4 separate regions of the Homo sapiens genome follow, and regions 1, 3 and 4 are each linked to region 2. Evidence: promoter capture Hi-C in 16 types of primary human blood cells and fetal thymus (Javierre and others, 2016). All regions are on one chromosome and are shown on one strand. The core of a region is centred on a gene start or on the middle of the fragment in contact, and the rest is flanking DNA. Distances in the headings are between cores, read along the strand shown. Region 1 has its middle 320 kb from the start of MC4R. Region 2 holds the start of CDH20 (cadherin 20). Region 3 has its middle 440 kb from the start of MC4R. Region 4 has its middle 300 kb from the start of MC4R.

The links. Contacts are between HindIII fragments. The CHiCAGO score rates a contact against its expected background, and 5 or more counts as called.
Region 1: a contact is called between a fragment that was not itself captured here and the fragment with the promoter of CDH20 in region 2, in 1 of 17 cell types (endothelial precursors). The highest score is 7.2, in endothelial precursors.
Region 3: a contact is called between a fragment that was not itself captured here and the fragment with the promoter of CDH20 in region 2, in 1 of 17 cell types (endothelial precursors). The highest score is 8.4, in endothelial precursors.
Region 4: a fragment that was not itself captured here is called in contact with the fragment with the promoter of CDH20 in region 2 in 1 of 17 cell types (endothelial precursors); the score reaches 5.4 in endothelial precursors.

What each region holds. Positions count from the first base shown.
Region 1 is chr18:60,690,222-60,693,622 of GRCh38, reverse strand. No RefSeq gene overlaps it. Among named protein-coding and RNA genes, the nearest start is that of MC4R, 320 kb to the right of the region's middle. The HindIII fragment of the contact is 4,371 bases long and covers 1-3,401 here.
Region 2 is chr18:61,331,998-61,335,444 of GRCh38, reverse strand. CDH20 (cadherin 20) reads right to left here and starts at 2,015. Exons shown (of 12, transcript NM_031891.4): 1 at 1,618-2,015. The HindIII fragment of the contact is 13,774 bases long and covers 1-3,447 here.
Region 3 is chr18:60,807,292-60,810,546 of GRCh38, reverse strand. No RefSeq gene overlaps it. Among named protein-coding and RNA genes, the nearest start is that of MC4R, 440 kb to the right of the region's middle. The HindIII fragment of the contact is 511 bases long and covers 1,059-1,569 here.
Region 4 is chr18:60,671,817-60,675,359 of GRCh38, reverse strand. It overlaps the pseudogene LOC100420948. Among named protein-coding and RNA genes, the nearest start is that of MC4R, 300 kb to the right of the region's middle. The HindIII fragment of the contact is 514 bases long and covers 1,555-2,068 here.

The sequences.
Region 1 (3,401 bases), core at 781-3,280, 640 kb after region 2:
ATAGAGGCATTCTCTTTGGTGTCCAGATCCTGTGGAACGTCTTTGCTAGGCTTTTCAACGCATCAGAGAATTAACATCCCATAGGAACAGGTCTCACGCCATGACTAACGGAAATTGGTGATATATATCCCAGTTCCTTTGCCCCTTGGGCAGGCTAACTCAGAGGCACATGTTCTACTCTGCCTCCAGAGTTCTCAAGTTGTAGCTGGCTTAGCATGTCATTGTTATTGATCCTTTTCTCTCAATCATTTCCTTACTCTCCTACCAGCATTTCCTTACTCTCCTACCAGCATTTCCTAGCACCATGTCCCAAATAATGAATGTGTCCTGAAAATCTGAAGTTTTTACTCTCCTGTCATTAGAGTAACTGGACAATCAACAACTTTCTTTTTTGTTCTTGTTGTTGTTGTTGTTGTTTCGAGACAGTCTCGCTCTGTCGCCCAGGCTGGAGTGCAGTGGTGCGATCTCGGCTCACTGCAAGCTCCGCCTCCCGGGTTCAGGCCATTCTCCTGCCTCAGCCTCCTGAGTAGCTGGGACTACAGGCGCCCGCCACCACCCCCAGCTCACTTTTTTGTGTTTTTAATAGAGACGGGGTTTCACCATGTTAGCCAGGATGGCCTTGATCTCCTGACCTCGTGCTCCACCGGCCTCGGCCTCCCAAAGTGCTGGGATTACAGGCGTAAGCCACCGCGCCCGGCCCAATCAACAACTTTCATATCCTACTCTGTTTAGTACTGATCCAAGAATGATGTCTGTAAATCGTTTTAGGAAAATGTTCTCAGATTTCTTAGTCATCAGAGAAAATTAGACAAAACTAAAGAGGATACCAGGTTTTAGAAATTCTATTATTTGATAATGTACCAATGTTTTCAAAACATAAACCAAGGGTATTAAACGAGGTATGTTGCTGAATCTGCTGTCATTTGAGGACCAATCAAGTGGAGAAATATACCAATTAGAGTTCAGAAAAAAATTATTTATAATTTGATAAATGAAAATAATATCTCATTTAAAATTATTTTATTAATAAGAAGACTAAGCATCTTACCTTATGTATGTGTGTCTCGGCTGAATCCTCTTTCTTAACCACCCTTTAATCGGGGCAGGCCGGTAGAGGAGGAGGCTTTCAAGTCAGGTCTAGTTTCAGCTTCCTCTAGGGGCTCTCACTCACTGGTCTTGTGACCTGAGGCACTTAACCTCTTCAAATCAGTTTCCTTACTCATAAAACTGAGACACTAATATCAACTAAACATTAAAATGTAGGTAATACGTCTAAAGCACTGAGCCCACTGACATATGATAAACATTCAGAAAATAGTAGATATGTTCAAATTATGCCCCCTTAAGGCATTTTACACTAACTTAAAAAAAAACCACTATCATTTATTTACTACATAATGAGCTCACATACAATTAACCATCTATGTTTTATTCATATTTACTGTGTTTATCAAACATGAGTGTCATGGAGAACGCTTATGTACATGTAATCAAATTGGCCTATTTTATCCTTTCATCTAACATTTCTAAACTTATTTTTTTCTCTCATCCTCTGAGGTTAGATAAATGTTTAAACCATTTAATAACAAATATTTTGAATTAATATTTTCTTCTGAGGTTATTACCTCATTTTGGAGGAAAAAAAAACACAAATTATCCAATGAGCTTCTCCTTATATATCTTAACAAATATTTTTATTTGCAAATATTCCCTTTCTGTGCTTAAGAGTCTGTAGGAAACACAACTACATTTCTCTGATACAAATTTGTGGAATTCATATTTTCTTGCTGGGGCAAAAGGACTCCCTATAGACTGACTCCACCTCGTGTTTGAACCTCACTTTTCCTTAAGCCTGTCACCAAGCAGGGCAGTCTCACTTCTGTTCTTCTTCCGTCATTTTTCGTCCACTTGCATTTCAAGCCTTTGTTTGCTCTGTACACCGTTATAGATTTTGATCTCTTTCATACTCCTAAATTAGATTTATTTCAATGTCTTGCATATGATAGTTTGTTTCCATGAAAAGATTACTGACTAGTAGAGCCAATATTAAACTTTTATTAATGCCTTTGTCACTCAAGCAAAATTCCGGTAGGCGGAACTCTAAGATAGCCCCCAAGTTGCCTGCTATCCATATAATCCTCTCCCCTGAGTGCAAATAGAAGCTGTAAATATGATGGAAATTTAATCCCTTGATGATAGTATGTAATATGGCAAAATAGACTTTTCAGATAACTTTAAAGTTCCTAATCTGTTGGCTTTGAGTTCTCAAAAGATAAATTATCTTGGATGAGACCTAATCAGGTGAGCCCTTAAAAGATACAAGATGCAGCAGCAGACACTCCTGCTGGCCTGGAAGAAAGCAGACAATGATGTTGTGAACTGCTTCTGGATGACACTACAGGGGTGTCCTTGAGTCTTTCTACTGGCCATCCTGCTCATAGCCAGCAAAACAAACAAACAAAAAACCCAGGTACATTAGTTCTGCACCACAAGGAACTAAATTCAGTCAACAATCTGAAAGAGCTTGGGAGAAAACACTGAATTCCAGAACAGAACACAGCCCTAGCCAAAACCTTGATTTCAGCTTTTAAAATCCTAAGCAGGCTGGGCACAGTGGCTCATGCCTGTAATACCAGCACTTTGGGAGGCGGAGCTGGGCGGATCACCTGAGGTCAAGAGTTCAAGACCAGCCTGGCCAATATGGTGAAACCCTGTTTCTACTAAAACTACAAAAATTAGCCAGACATGGTGGCACATGCCTGTAGTCCCAGCTACTTAGGAGGCTGAAGCAGGAGAATCGCTTGAACTCAGGAGACGGAGGTTGCAGTTAGCCGATATCGCACCACTGCACTCCAGCCTAGACGACAGAGAGAGAGACTCTGTAAAATCCTAAGCAGAGGCCTTATCTTTGCTGTGCCTGGACTTGACCTGCAGAAGCTGTAAGATGGTAAATGGTGGTGGTTTTAAGTTCCTAAATTTGTGGTAATGCAGCAATAGAAAATGAATACATCCTATATTATTCTCTGGCTCACGTAAAACTGTAGTCTTTCTCTAGGTCTTTTTTGTTTTGCTCTGATGCACTTATGAAGACATGCTCATTTCAATACTCTGTGTAAATTTCAGAAAATTTGCACAGAAAATAAGGCAGAATAATTTGGAACATGAACGTACCTCAGAGTTAAAAAATATATACATATATCAAATTGTAAGACTTACAGCCAACTTCTAGTGTTGAATCACAATTTGGTGAAATGAGGTAATAACAATAGTAAAGATAGCAATAAAATTATTATTGACAAACAGCTCACACTTAAAATGTGGTGCACTTAATATGTAAAAATTTTAAACTTCATAATTTTTTAATTTTCCTGTTTCAACAGATGAGAAAATACCCTTAGAAA
Region 2 (3,447 bases), core at 766-3,265:
CATCTCCTGCACTCAGCTTAACTCTGCCATACTGTTCTCCCACACCCTCGCCCAGCTTTCTGCTGCATCAGCTGCCCAAGCCTGCACCCTGGGCAACATCTGAACAGGGTCAAGCCAAGAGTTGGCAACCACAGGTGCCCTTACGGATTCCTCCAGTGTCAGGACCTGAATCCTTTCAGCATGTCCAACGAGACTGCAAGGGTGACACTAAAGGGAAAAGATTTTCCCAGGTTATATAAATAAATGAAAGGGAAACGCTGGGTCAACTCTCAAGATGGCTATGCCTTCAGGGTTCCCCAGCCAGAGGCGGCTGAGGAAGGTGAGCAGATAGGAACATAATACTCATCTATAAGCGTGGGTTCAAACTCATCCTAGTTTCAACTTTTTGTTGTTCTTAGGTAGATCCAATTCCTTAGCTGAGTCCCTGACAGCACCACAGCTCTGAGTGGGTAATTTCCTTTGGTGGAAAGACACACATCAGAGACTGGAGGAGGTCCGGGGACATTTCATTTGAGGGGAGGCGGCTGCAGGTTCAATTTGCAGGCGATTTATAACAATCAGAAAAAAAATTGTTCCTGGTGCTCGTGCCAATAACAAGAGCATTAATAATAATAGCAACAACATAGTAAACTCTGAATCTACCAGGCGACCAACTCCCCGATTGTCTGGTACTATCCCCTCTCACTTCCAGCCTGGTCTCGGCAGAAACAAACAAAACAAAACAAGGCTCTGACGCTGCCTCCGGGCTGCCTTCCAGATTTCAGCCCCCACTGCTGCCCCAGAGGCGGATAGCTAGGCAAAGGCTGCTGCAGTCTCTCCGATTGCTAAGGACACGTTGAGAGTCCTCGGTAACGTTCTCTTTGCAAATCTGAAACTTTAGCCCCATTTGACCCCCTTGCCCCCGGCTCTTCCCCCAGAGTAACTACAACAAGCAAAAACCAAACAGCGAGCGCAATTCAGAGCTTTCCTTGGGAGTGTCAGGGCCCGAGGACAGGAAATCCGGGGAGTTGGCGAAGTCCGGCAGGTGGCGGGGACTCGAGTACCCACCACATTCTCCTCCCACAGCCGAGCTCCGGCGGGGGCGCGGCGCGAGGCACGGACCAGGGATCGGCCCCGTAGGTGCCTGCGCCTCCCCGGAGCCTGGCTCTCTGGTCCCCTTCCCGGCGCACATCTCTGTGCGAGGGACGCGGCCACCCTGTCCCCTCTGCAGGCGGAGGGAGGCGCCACCGCCTGCGGGGCCAGCGAGGGTGAAGCCGTGCCAAGCGCCCCCACAAGCCGCGCTCCTGGATCCCCAGTCACCATCCCCAGGCGCGCGCAGTCCCCGCTCCCAGCGCGCCACGTCCTCCACCTGCCCCGGTGCGCCCCAGCTTCCCTGCTTCCAGAGAGCAGCTCCCCCAGTCCCGGCAGCCCATTTCCAACCCCTTCTCCCACTAAGTCCGAGGAAGTCGAACTCGGAGCGGCCGGTAGGCTCGTCGAGGTGGCAGGGAGTTGCTGGGAGAGCACAGCGCGGAGAGGGACCGCGCACGCCGCCCGGGGATTTCGCCCCAGAGGGCTGGCTCCGCGCGCCCGGAGTCCCAAGCCCCAGAAGCGGGGCCCGACCCGAGCCCTCTGCGTTACCTGGCACCGCCGGCGACTCTCCGGAGACCTTCGGTCCTAACTGCTCCAGGGCGGGCGTTCTGCTCACGTAGCTGCCTCCCCCACTGGGCGGCTGGTGCCCCGCTGGGTCTCTTCACCCCTGCTCGCGGCGCTGTCCCCGCCCCCCACCCCCCTACCCCCTCTGTCAGAAGTGTCACAGCTTTTCTGCCTTCGGATGTTTCGCAAAGTCTCCGTGCGGTTGCCAGGAGTTGGGGGGTACTGCCAAGTGCACCAACCCCGCCGATGCCCTGCCCTGCCCTCCCGCGGCCACCGCGTTCGGCCTGTCCAGTGAGAAGAGCCCCCTGGTCGCGGTCACCGTCCCCCGAGCGTGGCGCGCGGTCCGCTTCCCCTCCCTCGCGCCTTCCCTAGCAGGAGTGGCTGCTGCCTGCCTGTACCGCGGGTCCTCATTCCCCTGCTCATGAATATTCTGACAGAGGCTAATGCCGCTGAAGTAAATTGAATTAGCCAATTGGTGCCAGGAATGTGCGCTCCTTCCTTCTGAGGAGCTGTCTGGAACCCCACCAGATGAAAGCAATTAACGTCCGGTTGGCACCCTGTGGTTTAGACCAGTGAGGGGCAAAATGGGTTAATTCTTTAAATGCAGTTTAGATACCGCATTTAAATGTTTCAACTCCTCTATTGGCTGAGAGCGTAAGGAAATGTTAAGAGGGAGAGAGAAGAAAGGGGATGTGTGGACGTGGGGAGGGGGGCGGGGGTATTTACATCTAAACTTTCCCCTGAAGTTGAGGTAATTATTTTGCACAGATTCTGGAAGAGGCAATTGAGGAGTAGAACAGGATAAGGCAAATAAAATCAGAAAGGAAATGAGTACCAACTCGGGTTTAACCTTGACCTTGAGGGTGCAAAAGACATTGTTTTCAAGAGGAGAGGTAGGGGAAGATGGCATGTGTGAGGGAAACCTCACTCATCGACTTTTAAGAATTTCTTCAAATGCTCAGATTTCCTTTTCTTTTTGTCCTCATAGGAAAATCTTAGAGTTTTAAGCCTTTAACTAGAGATGGGGTGGAGGTATATTAAGGGTCAGAAATTTCTGAGGTGGAAGCTGAGACCACCCTTCTCTCCCAGATGAAGGGGGTCCCCCAAATCACACAATACTGTGACAGGCCCATTCCAGAAGGCAATTCCAGCTCTTATTTCTGAGGTCAGAATACACAAGGTCAAAAGGAGAGATCACCTCTCTCCTGTCCTGATTCCTACCCTAGAATGTCAAGTTACTGACGACAACTTGGGTTTCACAGTGGCTGGAGGGGGACTTTTTGCCCGATGTGGTTTCTACATTTCTCTTCAAGCAAGGTGCTTGGAGGATTTCCTCCCCCATCACTGATTGTAATAGAGCAAGTTATTTTGATTGAATTGATAGGTTACTAAATAATCTATTTGTACAACTGCTCTGTGGCCAAATGATCAATGTGTGTAAAGAACTGATAAAATGATATATATAAACATCCAATAAGATTCCCAAGTGTGTGACAATAGAAATAGTATCCCAGTTAAGGCAGTCATGCCATATTTTAATAGCTTTCAGCAGGCCTAGAATTAGAACTCATAGTTATAACAATGATTATTAATAGCAGAATAGCTAATGTTTATGGAGAACTTGTTATGTGACAGACATGTGTTACACATGTTATTTCATTTCATTTTTCCAACAACTCTATTCAGTCTAGACTATTATTTCTCTATTTTAATAGATGATGCAGATGTGGCTCAATAAAGTAAGGGCAGTTGACCCTTGAACAACATGGGGGTTAGGAGCACTGACCCTCGTGTAGTCAAAAATCCGCATATAAC
Region 3 (3,255 bases), core at 65-2,564, 520 kb after region 2:
ACACTTTGCCTAAAGCAATTATCATCATCACAATAATCCTCTGATGAGGACTTTATTATTCTCCATTTAGATATGAGGACACTGATCTTCATAGTTAATGAATGAGCCAAACTATTGAGATTTTTTTTTTAAATTTAGGATTACTTAAATCCAGTGTTTGGTATCTTCCTACTAACCCAGTCTTTCTTAAAGCATTTAGGGTTTCAAATGAAATAGATCTATCCCCGTTATGTTTCAAAGACAACATGTTAGTGGGTAAATTGATGGTTCTGTGATTGCTTCAGTAGTTCCTAACTAAGGGCTGGGATTGCCACATGAATGAGCAGGTTAGCTTGATAGGCTCAGTGGGAAGGTCTCTCTGCACAGGTGTGCAGCCTTTGAGAAGTGCAGAGACAAGCTCCTTGCTGTTATTACGCAATGTGTTATTTCAGGACAAATTTATGCTTCTCCTAGGGAGCCTTCTAGAGTAATAATCTCTGACAAATGGTGATCCTGCTATACCTAGTCTCCCTGAATAGCTCCACCTGAATTTATTTTGCATGTAAATTACAGTGCTCATGTTAAAGAATCCCATAGATGTAGCTTTATTTCTACTTGTTAAGACCAAAAAGAAAAATGTAATGATTTGTTAAGATCATCTTTCAATCATTCTGCACTTTCTCCCAAGTGTTAATTTTCTTGCAAGTAGAAATAAGGAACTTGGGCTTCCCTTCCATTAAAAAAAAAAAAAATACCATTGTGAAAGTTTATGTGACCAGGTCCTGCAAACAACCAGAGACAAATATAAGCAGGTGTGCATATCATATCAAAATACTGCATTTTCCTTTTCTTGCATTTTTAAACATTAGTCGCAACTTTGTTTTGTTTTAATTTAGTGGAAAATAAATGTAATCGCTGTAATTTCATGTATAATTATTAGTAAAATGCCACTTTTACCTTTTCCATGGTCCTCATTTATTGTCCCCATTCTCTCTGTAAGCAGAATCTCCCCCAGGTGCTTCAAATTTTCAATGCTCAATTCCAGATTGATATTCTTTCCTCTACCATTAACTAAAGCTTTATCTGTGAAATGATTATTTTGTCCCATTTTTTCTTGATTAAAACAAACCAAAAGATGAAATTAAGAGAGAAGTAAGTAGAATAAAGCTCTCTTTATTACCTTTACCTTCTTCTAAATTGTTCATTGAGTAGCTTGTGAGGAGAGGTCATTAAAAGCATCATTAGTTGAAAAACACAGGCTTGTCTTTCCACATCCCCTACAGTTATATATCACACACTTCTTCTATAATTAGAATAATGCCAGCACTTTATAAATGGTCACTGACTGGTCTTGATTTATTAAAAGTCTAGACAAGTAAATGCACAAGATAGCCCTTTACACAGGGAGTATCTAAGTTTCCCTTGCTATATATTCAGACATCTAAAAGTTGTCCAGAATGTGCTACCATATCATCCTTTATTCTTAGGAAAATTCATTGTTTGTCCTGGTGAAAGTCAGTTTTACTTTTCTAGTCTTGTTTTGTTGGTTATATAAAGAATGGAGTAATTTTCAGCATCTATTCAAAAGCTTAATTATTTATAAAATTAAATAGTTTTTAAAATGAAAGTAAAATAATGTTATTTTATATTTAGTACTTTTGGAAGGTCCAGAAGGATATGTTCTGCTTAGTTAACCACATTGTGTTTTTTCTTTTGGAAATGCAAAGAAAGTATCTAATAATTTAAATATATATATATATATATATATATATATATATATATATATATATATATAATTTCTCTCATTTCTTCTTTTTAGCAGGGATCTACTTGTCTCTACCCAGAAATACAGATATAAAGTCAATGGAAGAGATAGATAGATAGATAGATAGATAGATAGATAGAAAGACAGACAGACAAAAAGATAGATGGATAGCTATTATTAACCTTTTATGACATTGAAAGAATGCATGCTGCCCTCTGGAGTCCACAAAAGGAAAATGCAAACCAAGTTTTTCTATCATCTTTAATATTTAAAATGTTTAATGCTACAAGTTGGAAAATAAACTGTATCTTTTACCTTTGCAATAAATAACATATAAGTAGCGCGACTAACAGGGAAGGGTTATGTTGAATCCTTAATTTGACCTTATGACGCATGTTTTCATGAAGTAATGAGGATTTTTCCCCTTACAATTTACTCACTATGTCTTTCCCAGTTACCAAAGGGCACAGAAATAAGTGTTAATGAAGAGAAAAATAGAGGATGAGATTAACAAAAAACAAATTAATCTTTGTGCCTACTTAATATCTTTTTGAAATATATATTACTTTGCACTTCAGATCATACTTTAAACTTTCTTATATAACATGTATGCCAAGTTTATGAAGTGAAAAATGTGGTTAAGAAAGATGATAATTAAAGAAAAGCTGTGAACATGGAATTGGGAATATATTCTTTCTATAGTAAGGCAACTTTTCTCTTATGAAAGTTAAAATAACACAGTGAAAGAGAAAGCCTTTGCTGCTACCTACTGAAGTGTGTGTGTGTGTATGTAGTGAGATAGATAGATGATAGATATATAGATAAATAGATAAATATGATCTCAGGCTTAGAACATAAGAGGTTGATTAATCATAAAAATGCAAGAGTTTCTATTTCGAGTATTCACAAGACTTAAGAAGTAGTCATTAGGAACCCAGATATTTGGAAAATTTCTTCCTGGAAAGGCTCTTCCTTCTTAAAATTAACATTTTTAATAACACTTCAAGGTTCATTTAAAATTTAAGTCCAAGAAAAGCTGTTCTCTACTTCAATACATTTTAGGAACTTACTATACTTTTTGCTGTGTCAACATCTCTAAACAATTCTACAATGTTTTTCAGAGTGTCACCTATTCAGAAAGGTTTTATTTTAACATATACACAATTAGATTGACTTTTACATCACGCTTCTAATGTAAGATTATTTACCTTCTTTTATGCATAATATGGTGAGAATCATTCAGGTTATTTGACTTATTTCTTAGCAAGAACATGATGCAGCCTGGATTAAAAATACAAATGGATGACTTCAAATTGCTTCTCTTTTTACTTAGCAAACTTTAAGTCAAATATATATAATCTGTATGGACACAAAATATAAAATAAGTTCAAGAATAAATTCTCTACAAAGTCATGCTGATAAACAATGTATAAATAATAACTGTGTATTCTTAAAAAATGAAGGAAGGGAACAAAAAGGAAAAAAGGACAGTGAAGGAAGGAAGGAAGGAA
Region 4 (3,543 bases), core at 562-3,061, 660 kb after region 2:
TGTTTTCTCATGATAAGATTGAGGTTATAAACATTTGGCAGGAATACCACAGCAACGAGAATATACCTTTCCAGTGAATCATATTATATTGTTGATATGTCCTATTGCTGCAATATTAACTTTGATCCCATCACTAAGGTGGCATCTGCCAGGTTTCTTCACAGCAAAGTAACACATGAGAAATACTTTGAGACCACGAAATATCCTGTTTTTCATCATACTTTTGTCCACTAATTTTAGTATCCATTGTTGTTACCTGCAACAACTATTATTTTGGTGTTTGTTTAATGATGACTTTATAGTTCCCTCATTTTTTCTAATGTAAGTAAAGTCCTTTTTCCCCATTTAATTATTCACTTATATCAGAAGGGACTCATGGGGGTTTATCTTATTTTACAGGTTATAATCTAATACTACCAATGTTTATTTTGTTACCCAGACTGTCTCAGCTTTGGCCATTGGGAAGTCCTTCCAGTGGATTATTGGATCCTGTGCCCTTTTGACATGCTTTCTTCCCTTATTAATTTTTTGTTTGTTTTGGGTCTTACTTCCGGGTTTTCTGTCATCACAAGTTGTTCCAGGCTTGTATTGTACATTTCCTCTTCAAGCCCTAAAACCAGCCATTTCTCTAAGCATTCATCGTTCCTTTTATTGGAGACTGGTATTTAAAATCAAGCTTTGAGTACTAGGTATACCTTGTGCTATTAAGCTATCATTGTTTCTAGGAAGACAGAGCTAGGAAATATATTTGTGAGCACTTTTAAGTGAAATATTCAAAAAACTTGTACCATTCATGTAGAAAAGGCAATAATATGAGATATAAAAGCAAGTCATAGTCTCCTGTGCATGCAGGTCCACGGAGGCTGCAATGTCAAAATGCTATTACTACAGATTATTTTCAGATGCTCTGCTACAGATATCAGAGAAATTTAAGCAAAGTGATGTGCAAGGAACATATGTTAGTATGAAGTAAACTGAATCCCCTTTTTTATTTTTATTTTTTATTTTACTTTAAGTTCTCGGATACGCGTGCAGAATGTGCAGGTTTATCACATAGGTTTACATGTGCCATGGTGGTTTGCTGCACCTATCAACCCATCATCTAGGTTTTAAGCCCCACTTGCATTAGGTATTTGTCCTAATGCTCTCCCTCCGCTTGCCTCTTACCCCATGGTAGGCCTCAGTGTGTGATGTTCCCCTCCCTGTGTCCATGTGTTCCAACTGTTTAATTCCCACTCCTTTTCGAAGCAGGTGTTCAGCTCTACACCAGTGAATTTCATAAAATTTCCTCTACTCATCACAGGAATTTCAAGGACTGTCAGAGATGATATTCTTTTAATTTATTTAGATGTAGGAAAATGCTTTTTGAAAAGTTAAATTTGCCTCCTTCATGGGAAAAATAAATGTGGAAAAATTTGAGAATTTGTAGAAGTTAAGTTCAGATCTATTTAACAGACACAAAAGATTGCAAAAAAAAATTACCTGTAATTAAGGTAGAGGTTGCCATTTTCTCAGGGCAAAATATGGAAAACAGATTGTACCTCATTTAAAGCTTTGTCCAGTATATATGCAGATAATTAATGAAAGTGTACGTATTGACCTGGAGAATGCCAGAGAAGAAAATGTGTTTCAGATGCAAGAACTATATATAAGGTTCAGATAATTAACAAATCTGAAGAAGAAAACCAAATTTGCTCCTCACTCTGATAAATGAAAAATGAACTAATGAATGGAAGCTAACCAAAGAATGAAAGAAATATCTACTGTTCAAACACACTAGTAATAGTAAGAATGGGTAGAGTCCATGATAGCCACAGTCTCCTGATGCCAACTGGAAGGATCTCTAGAAAGGCTTTGAGAAGGGTTGGATGATAGGATGTTTATGCATGGCTCTCTCTGTAAGGGCTTTAATGAACAAAAAGGTGAGCACCACAGACCAAAGAGACTCTGAGAGAGTTGGTGGAATGGGAGTAGAGATCACTGATTATAAGAATGTTGGATAATTTGTGGGTCAAACTAAGTCCTAAATTTAGTTGAAACTGAGGTAATCATACAAACTTTTTAAGCTTATGTGTCAAATGACAGAAAATTATACATATACCACATACGTTAATGTTGCATTTGGAGTGTTTGAGTTTTCATGGTTTTTAGATATGCCAATAGTCAGCAGTCAGCTTACCATCATTCTGAATAAATGCCAACAGGCAGAGTGGCTGGAAACAATGCCCAACTTTGGAGTAAATTTAATCTTGACACAATTGAGTGGGAGAGTGCTAAACTATTTTTTAATTATCATTTCAACCTAAATATCAATCAGAATTTTGAATACAACCTAGCCGTTATTTTCATGGCTTATCTTCAAGCTATTATTAGAAACCTACAAGCATTTAAACCTACATCACATTTCTTATTTTTTTATTTTTTATGTTAATCTAAATAATAAACTTACTTTCATATATAATGTACATATTTCATATGTTAATACATAAGGTAAAGTGGTTTTGTGGAAGTTGATTAAACCTAGATTTGCAATGTATATGAAGTAGCAGAATTTTCTCCTTTTATTTAGAGAGTAACCTACCACCTGCTCTTAAAACATCAACTGCCTTACACAATATCAACACATTGTTTTTTTAAATTTTTTCTCTAATACAATATTTTATTTCAATAAAATGCACTTTTGAAATTTTAATATGTTTTACAGCACTTGAGACATTAAATGAACACAGCTTTTAATAGCTGGTTATATGGAATTGACTATTGGAAATTTAAAGAATAGCCTATATCAAGTTGTAGTTAATATTTTTATTCTCACAAACATTCTTTTACTATTTGTACAAAATGACTGGTAGAACTGTCATTTTCATCCAAACAGAATCAATTGTCCTCTTTATGTAGTAATTGTCCACTAGCTTGTTCAACACAGTTCTCAAAGTCAATTTGTCAGTTTTGTGACCCTGAGAATAGAACTCAGTATGGATGAAAAGAGAATATTTTGGTTTTATTTATTTAAATAGATGGTTACATCATTGTAACTGATTTAAGGAAATATCATGTTCTTAAATTCATATTGTTTTCAAGTATGATTTCATGAACTGCTTAGGTATTTATTGGAAGATATTAAAATCTTAAAGTTTTATATTTAAGATAGGTATATATTTTCTATGGATTAGCGGTTTTATATCTAGAGTCTTTATACTTAAGCATTCTGTAACAAAACATTAATAATTATTTTTTAAAGATTTTAAACAGAAAACTTTCTTAAGAACAATTTAGCCACATTTTATTCATGATGATTAGGTAACAAACAAATGAGTCTACAAAAAGTGGTCATAGAAAGATGTATCTAAGTTAAGGTACATACATATGTTTATATTTAAATGTATATCTGGATATATATGCATATATATTTATATACACTGTGTATTTATGCATGTATATACATACACACATATGTATGTGTGTGTGTGTGTGTGTATATATATATATTTGTATTTGTAAAAAATCACAAGAGTATTGTCTTTACTTACAATTAGAAAAACG